Regions from separate parts of the Homo sapiens genome. Here region 2 is linked to region 1. The links are contacts of gene promoters, found by promoter capture Hi-C in blood cells and fetal thymus (Javierre and others, 2016). All regions are on one chromosome and are shown on one strand. Each heading gives the region's core, a stretch centred on a gene start or on the middle of the fragment in contact. The rest is flanking DNA. Distances are from core to core; before and after follow the strand shown.

The links. Contacts are between HindIII fragments. The CHiCAGO score rates a contact against its expected background, and 5 or more counts as called.
Region 2: the fragment with the promoter of CAPN11 here is called in contact with a fragment that was not itself captured in region 1 in 10 of 17 cell types (neutrophils, naive CD4 T cells, activated CD4 T cells and 7 more); the score reaches 11.5 in neutrophils.

The regions. Positions count from the first base shown.
Region 1 is chr6:43,713,635-43,719,389 of GRCh38, reverse strand. No RefSeq gene overlaps it. Among named protein-coding and RNA genes, the nearest start is that of MRPS18A, 29 kb to the right of the region's middle. The HindIII fragment of the contact is 2,271 bases long and covers 2,858-5,128 here.
Region 2 is chr6:44,156,737-44,162,357 of GRCh38, reverse strand. CAPN11 (calpain 11) reads right to left here and starts at 3,538. Exons shown (of 23, transcript NM_007058.4): 1 at 3,494-3,538. The coding sequence starts at 3,509. It overlaps LOC107986599 (a long non-coding RNA gene), which reads left to right and starts at 3,755. Exons shown (of 3, transcript XR_002956350.2): 1 at 3,755-3,773. RefSeq lists a silencer at 719-808 and an enhancer at 2,192-2,361. The HindIII fragment of the contact is 9,288 bases long and covers 1,646-5,621 here.

The sequences.
Region 1 (5,755 bases), core at 2,744-5,243:
GGAGAGAGCAAGAATTTGCCCTCAGCCACAGAGCAAGGTTAGAGGCACAAGGACCCAAGGCTCCTGGCTCCCATTTCTGTGCTGTTTGCCATACCAGGTAGGGACCCTGGAGAAGAAGGGGTGGGTAGGTTTGGAGTGGGAACTCAAAAAATCCACCCCACTCCACCCCAGAGTAAAGAGCATGAGCTCTGAAGCCAGAAGAGCTGGACACAAATTCTAGCTCCACCTTCCATCATTCTAACCTTCAGCAAATGTCTTTAGCTGTCTGCGCCTCCGTTTCCTTAACTGTGAAATACATATAACAGTAATTGTAATAACCTCATAGTGATATTGGGAGGACTAAATGAGTGGACACATATAAAGTGCCTGGACAGGGCTCCATATGCAGTAAATGCTCAGTGAACACTAGCTGTCACTATCTTATGGTCCTCAAAAGGTCTCCGTGTCCTGTCGAAGTCCAAAGTCTTTCCTAAGCCAGCAAAAGGCCTTCCCCCAGGAATGATTGTAGTGAGAGGTGGCTCAGCCACAGCCATTTCCCAGGATGTGGGTGGAAGCCGGGGCCCTTCCCCAGTGCTCTCACTGACTCCACCCTCCGATCTCCTGTCTCAGGGACTCAGTGGCCGCTTGGCCCCTCCAGTCGCCAGCCTGTCTGCCGGGCTCTCACGCCTGATGCAGAGATAAACACATCCCACGATAGTATTGTTTCCCATTTCCCACAGCTCTCAAGTGAGATCTTAGAGGGTGGGATTAGCTGGGCATTTGGGCAGTTTCAGGGCTTGGAAGGGTTGAGAGAGGCTGTTCCCAGAGCTGGCCGGTCCCCAGTCTCTAAAGGCAGTGGAGGTGGCCAGGTGTGCAGGGAAGAGGTGAGGGGAGCGGCTGGGGCCCGAGTCTCTGGAACATTCTGCCACCATCTCCCTACACCACACACAGGCATATTGAGTCTAACAAGGAGGAAGTGTGGAGAAATAGTACGCCCTTCTCCACAGTCAATTCTCTCCCTACACCCAGATCAGAGCCTCTGGCCCCTGTATTCCCTCAGGTGGCTGATCCAACTATCAAGATGTCACCAGGGAATGGGAAACCCAGAGCCCTTGGCAGAGAGAGCCTGCAGCGCCCAGAACCCAGGCCCGGGGCAAGCTGGGCAGGCCGGAGGGAGGGCAGTCTGGGGAGATGGAGTGTCCAGGCTCGTGCTTACTTCATCGTTATGATCGTTATGGGTAGAGTCAGCCAGGGGAGAGAGGCCTTCCTCTCCCAGCCAGGGCGCGCCCCTCCTTTCCACCCCACTCCCCAGTACTCCCAGTACAGCCACTCTCATGACCTCACTGCTACGGCCAGGCCAGGCCAGGCAGGTGGCCACGAGCCAGGGACCCGCCAAAATCCACATCCCCCAGAGACCATCGTGAGCCAGGCAGGGGCAGGATGTGTTGCTAGAATAGCCTCCACCCACCCAAACCAACGCCCGCGAAGACAGCCTGTCCTACCAAGTGTTTACTCCAGCCAGGCAGACTCACCTCCCTCTCAACAAGGCTGAACCTAGGGCAGTCCTTCACTATGGACCCTGTCTGTCAGCCAGACACATCCCACCTCCTCCTCCTCCCCTGCTAAATCCTGCTCGGCTGTCCTGTCCTTCCCTGAGTGACTTACCGGCCTCTCACCTCTCCACCATTTTGCAGTGATGGTAGTGGGGGTAGAGGGGTTGTGATGGAGATGGTGACATGGACACAGAAGTACTGGTCGTGACAGCCATTATAGCAGTTTCAGGGTGGTGATGGTAACAGTGAAGGGGATGATGGTGAAGGTGATGGCGGTGGTGATGGAGGTGGCAATGATGGAGACAGCGATGGTGGTGGAGGGAGTGATGTGATTGTCATAGTGGGAATGAGGTGAGTAGGGATGCCTCCCTCTGTAGGGTACAGGACCATGAAGAAACCGTTGGCCATGTCACTGAGGCCTACAGGAACATCGTGGTGAGTCGAGATTTTCTAGGGCATCCAGCACAGCAGGCCCCCAGAGCAGTAATGGCCTCTTCCCCTGTTTCCCAGTAGAGCATCATTATGTTCCCCTCTCAGACTCCTGGAGACCCCTCCAACTTGAAAGCAAGTGTCATCTGCCCTGGAATCTACTGGGGCCACCCTTGAAAGAAGGTGGACAGAGGCCAGGCTTGGGAGACAGAGGATCCTGGGTTGGAATCCTAACTAAATGGAGTTCACTTGGGTCTGAACCTCACTGTAAAATGGAAACCATAATTCTCTGTGGCAGGGTCATTGTGAGGATAGAGATAAATATCTTTAAAAGTGCCTGGCACAGAATAGTGGCAAGATAAATGGTCAATATTTTGTATCCTGTTTTCCAAGGCTTTCTTATGAAGCCTCCACCTACCCACTCCCCCCACCCCAACCCTCCTCCATATGCCTCCCTGTCTTCATTTTCTAGAGCTGCCGAAACAAATGACCACAAACTTGGTGGCTTAGAACAACAGAAATTTATTTTCTCACAGTTCTGGAGGCCAGAAGTCTGAAATTGAGATGCCAGCAGGGCCAAGTTCCTGTCCAGCTTCTGGTGGCTCAAAGCATTCCTTGGCTGTGGGCTCCAGTCTCTGACACCACCTTCACATGCGTCTTCACACGGCTGTCCCCACCACGTCTCTCAGTGTTTTTACTTGTTTCTTAGGAGGACGCTTTCACTGGATTTGGGGCCCACACTAATCCAGCGTGATCGCATCTCAATCCTCACCTTCATTACCTCTGCAAAGATCCTATCTCCAAATAAGGTCCCATGCTCAGGTTCCAGGTGGGCATAAACTTTGGGGGTCTCTATTCAATCCACTACATTCCCCAACCTCAGAGTGAGCCAAGCTTAATTCCCCAGACTCCCTATTACCTGGCACAGCCATGGTCCCTGCCCAAGCCTGCTTCCAGACCCCCACCCCTCTGCCCCTGCATGTCCCAGGTCCCGTGGCCCTGCGCCTGGGCTCCCCAGTGCCATGCGTGCATGCCTATGTGCATGTGCACAGATTCCCCCTTCACTTGGCGGTGAGAAAGGGGGATTCTAGGCTTCAGCAGGAGCCTACAGGGGCCTCTCTGCTCGGAAATGCTTCTTCCTCTCCCCCTGGCAGCTGTTTGGCTTGGCGGGGGCCCATCTGGCAGGCTCAGCAGCCAAGGAGCCCTAGGGGGCAGTGGGAGGGAATGGTGAGGGGCAGGCAGCTCCGTAGTCCTCAGGCCCAGGCCCTGGGAGCTGGGCCAATGGCGGGCCTCCCTGCTGGCTGGCTCCAGCCCCTTCGCTCTTGGTTCTCCTCCTCCCTGGTCTCCCGTCCTCCCCATCCTGTAAAGGGGAATTCTGGAGACCCTCCACCACCCTGCACTAGCCAAGGAGAAGACGTGCAGAAGAGGAGCAGCAACTGGCAAAGCAAGAAACACACCCAGGGAAAGGGCAGTCAGTGGCTCCTGAGGATCCGCTCATGGGGGCTCTGGATACTCTTTGAGGGCACCCTAGGACAACCTGGACTTCTCCCAACCTCTGATATTCTGTCCTCTGCTCCTTCCATGTTCCTGAAATTTCCTGTCCCTGGTGTCCCCTCCAGGGCACTTGCCTTCTTCCAGGGCCCCTCTGAACCCCCAAGCTGTTGCCTACTTTTCTGGGTCAGGCCTCTCTTCAGTAAGCAGGACAGAAAATGATGCCCTCAGCCCCTAGCAGGTCCTACAACCTCTTTCTACTGATGGGAAAATGTAAAACACATGCGCACACACGCACACACACACACACACACACACAGGGAGGGGCACAGGATAATGAGCCTGGGCTTTAGGGTTCATTTGGCCTGGGTTCAAGTTGCAACCCTGCACTTGACACCTGTGTGATCCTGGACAGGTAACTTAGCCTCTCTGAGCCTTGATATAGCCTCATAAAAGTAAGACTACTCATAGCTAACTTCCAGGGTTGCAAGGATAAAATTGCATAGCCTCTGAAATAAGGTAGGTATTCTCTAAATGACAACAACTTCCTATGTGCCAGGCACTGCATTAAGCACTTTGCATAGATTATCTCATTTAATACTAATAATAACTTTATGAAATAGAAACTATTTCATGGCTAAGGAAGCTGAGCAGTTTGCTTTGGGTCCCAGAACTGGTTGAGAGATTGAGCTGAGATTTGATTCTAAGCGCTGTGAATCCAAACCCTGCACTCGAAACTACCATGCTCTGTTGCCTATGCTACTGGCAGTGTAGACATGGTAGATGGTGTTAGTATTAATACCACAGAGAGCAGCTGGGCTGCAGGGGTTTTCCCGGGGCCCCTGCAGGTGCAGCTTGGAGGTCAACCTTACCCTGCACACAGATTTGCATGCAGCTTGAAAGTCGGGATCTGCCTGGCTGCCTTAGTAATTCTGGAGTCCTGGACACGAGGGCCAACCCATCCCAGTCACAGGAGACCACTGAAACTGAAGCTCCCAAGGCTCTCGTGCCTTGGCACATCTGGAAGCTATTAGCCTCCTTTCTACCACCTACCCCCTCAACCCCGCCCCCCAGCCAGCTGTTCACAGTGGCTAATTCTGGGAAGTGCCCCTCAGCCAGTGGCTGCCTGCAGGGGAGCGGGGAGGGGGGTTCCTCACCAACACATCCATGGGGTGGAGGGGAGGTGGGCAGGCAGCAGAGGGTTAATCTGAGTAACTACAGCTGCTGGTCTCCTCCCCCAACCCACAGATAGATAGCCAGTGGGGTTACTCCTGGTTGAGTAATGAGGAGGGAAGAGAGCGGGAGGAGGCAGGGGTGAGTGTGGAGGGAGACCAAGGAGCAGAGACTGAGAAAATGTTTCTGCTGGCAAAGATCTTTAAAAGGTCATCTGATATTGTCCATCCCCCTGTTTCCTGGGGGTCACGGTGACCTCATGGTGTAGTGGAAAGAGGGCAGTCTTTGTAGTTGAGCAAAGCTGGGTCACAATCCTGACTCCGTCGCTGTCAGTCTGTACAACCTTGAGCAAGGTCCTTACCCTCTCCAGGCCTAAGCAGCCTCATTTGTGCAATGGGAGAACAGCACCCCTCTGGCAAGGCTGCCAAGAGAGTTCTGGGAGATACAGTCTGGTCCATGCCCAAAAACATTCGCTCCCTCATCTCTAAGAGCGGCAAGAAGCTTCGAGAGAGGTCTTCCCTTGGTTCCACTACCTGCCTCACTTTCTGGGATCTCACCGTCTAGATCCTGAATCCAGCACACCCATCTTACTGTGAGGCCTGCCGTCAAAGCCATGCCCTGCCTAGAGACTTGACTTGCCCTCCTCTCTGCCCAGCGCTGCCCTCCTCACTTTCTAAACTTGCTGAAGACCCCCACCGCCGGCACTGACAGCTCCCACTGGCTCCAATTGTCCCAAACCTCCCTCCACCCCGTAGTACCTGTGTCATTCAGGAGGTTATCTGACATCTCTGAACTCAGTTATCCTGGGGGTTAAATGTCGCTGCTGCAAAAATGCCTCCTTATATACTACTGCGCGTAATCTTCATAGCAATTCTTGAAAATAAGATCTAACCACAATTTTGTATATCGAGAGGGAAGAACAGATGCTAACTTTTTTTTTGTTTTTCAGATTTGAGACAGGATGTCACTCTGTCACCAAGGCTGGAGTGCAGTGGTGCAATCTGCTCACTGCATGCAAACTTCACCTCCTGGGCTCAAACAATCCTCCCATCTCAGCCTCCCAAGTAGCTGGGATTACAGGTGCATGCCACCACACCTGACTTTTTTTTTTTTTTTTTTTTGAGGTGAAG
Region 2 (5,621 bases), core at 2,289-4,788, 440 kb before region 1:
GAGACTGTGAGGGGGGCTGCGGGGGCGGGGTTAAACAGTGGAGCCCCTTTCAGATGAAGAGGGTTCCGAGGGAAGGGTGGAAAGCAGTCCTGAGAGGGGAGAGCTGAACACCTTCTGTTTCAGCCCCTGATCCCTATCTGTGAAGCTGGCGGATCAGGATGACTATTCCCATCTGAGCTGGGTGGAAGCCAGGGCCTCCACAGAGAGATTGAGTCAGAAGTTCTCAACCCGGGGTGATTACGGCCCCCAGGGAACAGGTGGCAACGTCTAGAGGCAGTGTTGGTTGTCATAACTGGGGCAGGTCTCAGGGGAGCTACTGGCATCTAGTAAGTAGAGGCCAGGGATGCTGCTGGGCGCCCCTCAGTGTAGAGGAAAGTCTCCACAATAAAGAATTTTCCAGTTCAAAATGTCAAGAGAGCTGGGGTTGACAAACCTGGGTTGAGCGAATCATCTAAGGTCATTCACACGATAAGGCAAACCACTCCATGCCCTTGCACCGTGCAGTCACTCCAGGCAGCCTCTACCCTGGCTGCTCCGAGGACTGAGGGTGTTGAGCTCTCCTGGGGGCCTGGAAGGACCAGGGAAGATGCTGTTGTTTGAGAAGACTGAAAGAACATCAGAGGGCAGGCCAAGGCAATTCAGGTTCCATCTTAACTCCCTTGTCTCATTTCCCCAGAGCCCTCTGTCCCCTAGTCACCATCCAGCCCAACAAGTCATTTCTCACTGTCTGGCCCCCAAACCCTGCTTCGAAGCTGCATACCCAGTCCCCAGGGTGTGAGGTCATTACTCAGCTCTGACTTGCAGGAAGGACTGACACACCTATCCACACCACCACAGTTGTCATGGAAAATGTCTTTAAGTTGGGCACTGTGGCTCACGCCTGTAATCCCAGCACTTTGAGAGGCTGAGGTGGGCGGATCACCTGAAGTCAGGAGTTCAAGACCCGCCTGGCCAACATGGTGAAACCCCGTCTCTACTAAGAACACAAAAATGAGTTGGGTGTGGTAGCACATGCCTGTAGTCCCAGCTATTCAGGAGGCTGAGGCAGGAGAATCGCTTGAACCCGGGAGGTGGAGGTTGCAGTGAGCCAAGGTTGGGCCACTGCACTCCAGCCTGGGCAATAGAGTGAGACTCCACCTCAAAACAAACAAACAAACAAAAACACCAAAAAAAAAAAAAACCCAAAAGAAAATATCCCCTTAGAGAGGGCAAAAGATCCAAGCTGTCACATGGGCTAGGAGCGTGAGAAGGCTGAGACAGACAGACCAAGGCTGCCTGTGGGAAGCACAGACAGATGGCCAGAGCAACACAGTAGCTCCCCTTAACCCTAGGGGTACGTTCCAACACCCCCAGTGGACACCTGAAACTGCGGGTGGTACCAAACCCTGTATATATCAATACTATGTCTTTCCTTTATGTACATACCTATGATAAAGTTTAGTTTATAAATTAGGCACAGTAAGCAGTTAACCATAATAAGTAATAAAATATAACAAATACAACAATACAATAACAGTAATGTGAATGTGGTCTCTCTGTCTCAAAATATCCTGATGTTTTCAGACTGCAGTTGACAGCGGGTAACTGAAACTGCGTGGAAAGCAGGGGCTGCTGCATGTTAAAAGGCATGAATGGACAGGAAGCTTTCTGCTGCAGCTGCACATCCTGTCTCCTCCATCAGACTGAGAACCTACAGATCATTTTGTTGTTGTTGTTGTTGTTGTTTTTTGAGGTTTTTTTTGAGGCGGAGTCTCACTCTGTCGCCCAGGCTGGAGTGCAGTGGAGCGATCTTGGCTCACTGCAAGCTCCACCTTCTGGGTTCACGCTATTCTCCTGCCTCAGCCTCCCGAGTAGCTGGGACTACAGGCGCCCGCCACCACGCCTGGCTTATTTTTTGTATTTTTAGTAGAGACAGGGTTTCACCGCGTTAGCCAAGATGGTCCCGATCTCCTGACTTCGTGATCTGCCCGCCACGGCCTCCCAAAGTGCTGGGATTACAGGCGTGAGCCACTGCGCCCGGCCAGATCGTTTTTAACTAAATCAGTTTTATTTTATTGACAAAAAAAGTATATATCTGTTGTATACGACATGGTGTTTTGAAATATGTATTCACTGTGGAATGGCTCAGTTGAGCTAATTAATATCTGCATTACTGCACATACTTGTTATTTGTTTGTGGTGAGAACACTTAAAATCTACTGTCAGTGATTTTCTTTTTTTTTTGAGATGGAGTCTCGCTGTGTCGCCCAGGCTTGGGGTGCGGTGGCACGATCTCGGCTCACTGCAACCTCCACTTGCTGGGTTCAAGAGATTCTCCTGCCTCAGCCTCCCGAGTAGCTGGGATTACAGGCGCCCGCCACCACGCATGGCTAATTTTTGTATTTTAGTAGAGACACGGTTTCACTATGTTGGCCAGGCTGGTCTCGAACTCCTGACCTCAGATGATCCACCTGCCTTGGCCTCCCAGAGTGCTAGGATTACAGGCGTGAACCACTGTGCCTGGCCTCTCTCAGTGATTTTCTAAATGCAATACATTGTTATTAGGGGACTATAGATTTAAGGACAGTTTGATTTCCGGCACTGGGAAAAAACTAAGATGTTGTGTCAGGGAACTTTAAAAAAAAATAAATACTAATAAGTAATAATAATAAATAAATAAATTATATTTTGAGATGAGGTCTTGCTATGCTGACCAGGCTGGTCTTGAACTCCTGGGCTCAGGGCACTTCTGAAGAACAAGGACTGGGTTTGGGGTCACCAGCTAGGCCTAAACTTCCTAGGGTCAGGTAAACAGGGAGGGCCTGAGAAGCTGGGAGGCTGGGTCTAGGGGCCCATGGTCTCACGGTGCCCCAGGCTGAGGGTGAGGTACAGGGCTGACCTTCTGCTGGCCAAGGCTGGCTGCCCTCTGTGCACCCTAGCCCCACAGGAACAACTCAGTTCTGCCCAGCCCTCCCCTTCCCCCCAGCCCACTCTCCCCCATCTCCTGGAGTCTGGTCCCAGGCTTGCCTCAGGTAGTCCTGCCCCTGCCACCCTGAGGATCTCATCTTCCTGGGCTGAGGGACCTGCTTTTCTAGGCTTAGGAGAGGTTCTCTCTGTTCCCTAAAGTTTTCTTCTCTACGTGGGCTTTTTCACACAAACCCTTTTCCCCAGCAGCCATGACAGTGGGATGGCCGGCCCCTCTCCTCTCCCCAACTCCAACTGTCAGTGGAGAGGAGAAAGAGTTCCTGCCCGGCCTACCACCCAGTCTGACCACCAGTGGCCTATCCTTCCCCAAACAGTCTGAGAACGAGGCCCAGGTCCTGTCCTTAGGGAGCATCCAGTCTGATGGAAGAGTCACTCTCTGTACCCTCAAGGGGCATCCAGTCTGATGGAAGAGTCACTCTCTGTACCCTCAAGGGGCACCCAGTCTGATGCGGGACACAGCTCCTCCCCTGGGGGGAGGCTCTAGCCTGCAGGAGGTACAGGAGTGGGGCAAGGCCCCATGAGTGCCTACCTGGGGAGTACAGCATGCTGGTGGCTAGCTCGGTGCTTGACAGTTGAAGGTTCTGGTGGGAGGGGGAGAAGAGACCCTCCCCCCAGAACTCTCTCATTGCAGTGGGATTCCTAGGTCAGCAGCCGGTTTAACAGCTGCCTTCCCTTTTCTCCTTCTCAGTAACCCAGCCCCTTACCCAGCTGAGGGCTACCCGCTTTAGGGACAGATGACCCAGCACCCCTGCCTTGCACAGCCTCCACCAGCCTGGCTGTCCTCACTGTATCACGGTCATCCCATCAGGGTAGGTCCCAGTCCCTTTTTTTCAGCCCAAGGTTTCCAGGAAGGGGTTGTCCCTGACACACCAACCTGACCTTTACATCCAGAAAGCCTTCTCATTCCCAAAAGCCCCTTTCTCACTGACATGGCATTTTTCCTGTGTTGCTGTCTTCACATGGCACCCTCCTCTGTGTCTCTTCTTCTTATAAGGACACCAGTCATATGGGGCTAGGGTCCCATGCATTTCAGTATGACCTCATCTTAATTGAACGAATTACATCTGCAACCACCCTGTTTCCAAATGAGGTCACATTCTGAAGTACTGGGGGCCAGGACTTCAACATGCCTTTTTGGGGGACACGATTCCACCTGCAACACTCTCCTTGCCTAGCCCCAGTCTGGCAAGGTTAGGCCACTGGTCTGACCACATGTCCTGCCTCTGCACTGGAAAGTGGGAATGCTTTGAGCTAAGAACTCTGCTCCAGAGTGCAGTCTTCTCTGGAGTGTATGATGGCTGAGGACAGGGACTGTCAAGGTCATCCCAGTGCCCCTCAGCCCTGCCTGGTGCTAATCAGGCACAGAACAGGTGTGAGAGCACCCAATGGGATCAGAGAACCTTGTTCCAAGCTCTGAAACAGGAGCTGACCTTGGGCGAGCCCTCCCCCTTTCTCCTTTCTGGGACTCAATCTCCTCATCTACGAGAATATTAATTATGGTTTGTTATTATGTGCCAAACACTGGGCTAAGAACTTCCTACTTATTTAATCCTTAAAACAGCCAGAGGCCATGACATTGCTATTCCCATTTTATAGATGAGGAAAGTGAGGTCTAGAGGTATGATGCAACTTGCCCAGGGTCACACAGCTGTTAAGCGGTCGAGCCAGGATTTAAACTAATAACTTCAGATTTTTTTTTTTTTTTTTTTTTTTGAGATGGAGTCTCGCTCTTTTGCCCAGGCTGGAGTGAAGTGGTGCAATCTCAGCTCACTGCAACCTCTGCCCCCCGGGTTCAAGCGATTCTCCTGCCTCAGCCTCTCAAGTAGCTGGGATTACAGGTGCCCACCACCATGCCCAGCTAATTTTTGTATTTTTAGTAGAGACGGGGTTTCGCCATGTTGGGCAGGCTGGTCTCGAACTCCTGACCTCAGGTGATCACTCGCTTCGGCCTCCCAAAGCGCTAGGATTATAGGCATAAGCCACCGTGCCCGGCCATAACTTTAGCTCTTATCCGTATCTTCTGCTGCCCCCAGCTGTGAAAGGAGGAAGTGGTCTTTGGGGATCCTGTGGTCTCCCCTGCCCACTCCTGATTCCACTATTGCACCTCTTGGATGCCTCTAATGTGATCTGCCTGGACATGAACTCTGTGACGAGGTGCCAGGGGTAGGGTGCAGGCAGGCACGGGTGTTCCTCTCTATTACAGCCTCCCACCCTGGGGGAGGGCTGTCCTCAGGACTCTTGCTCAGTGTGCTGCTTGGGCATTATCTGGAGTTTCACATTTGGAAATGCTGGAACCTGGCTTTGAACTTCAGGCCCTGCAGGAAAGGGAAGGCATGCTGGGCAGATGAGGAATGAGAGGGTCTCGGCTAACCAGAGGTGGGGGCTGAGGTCTGTCCAGGCCATGCTTTGCAGACAAGGGGGCTTGCCAGGCAAATGGCGGTGGTGTGCCTGCCCATCCATACGGAAAACAGGCTTCGGGAGCACCGAGAAGCCTTCACACAACCAAGGTGCTCCTTTCAAAGCCATGCCAATATTTGTCCAACCACCAGCAGGCACTCCCTTGGCCCCAAGACTTTGGGGACTCTACCTGGGAGCTCATGTTTCACAACTGCAGATCTGACATACATATGCAGGCTGAGGCCAGGACCAAGGCCTCA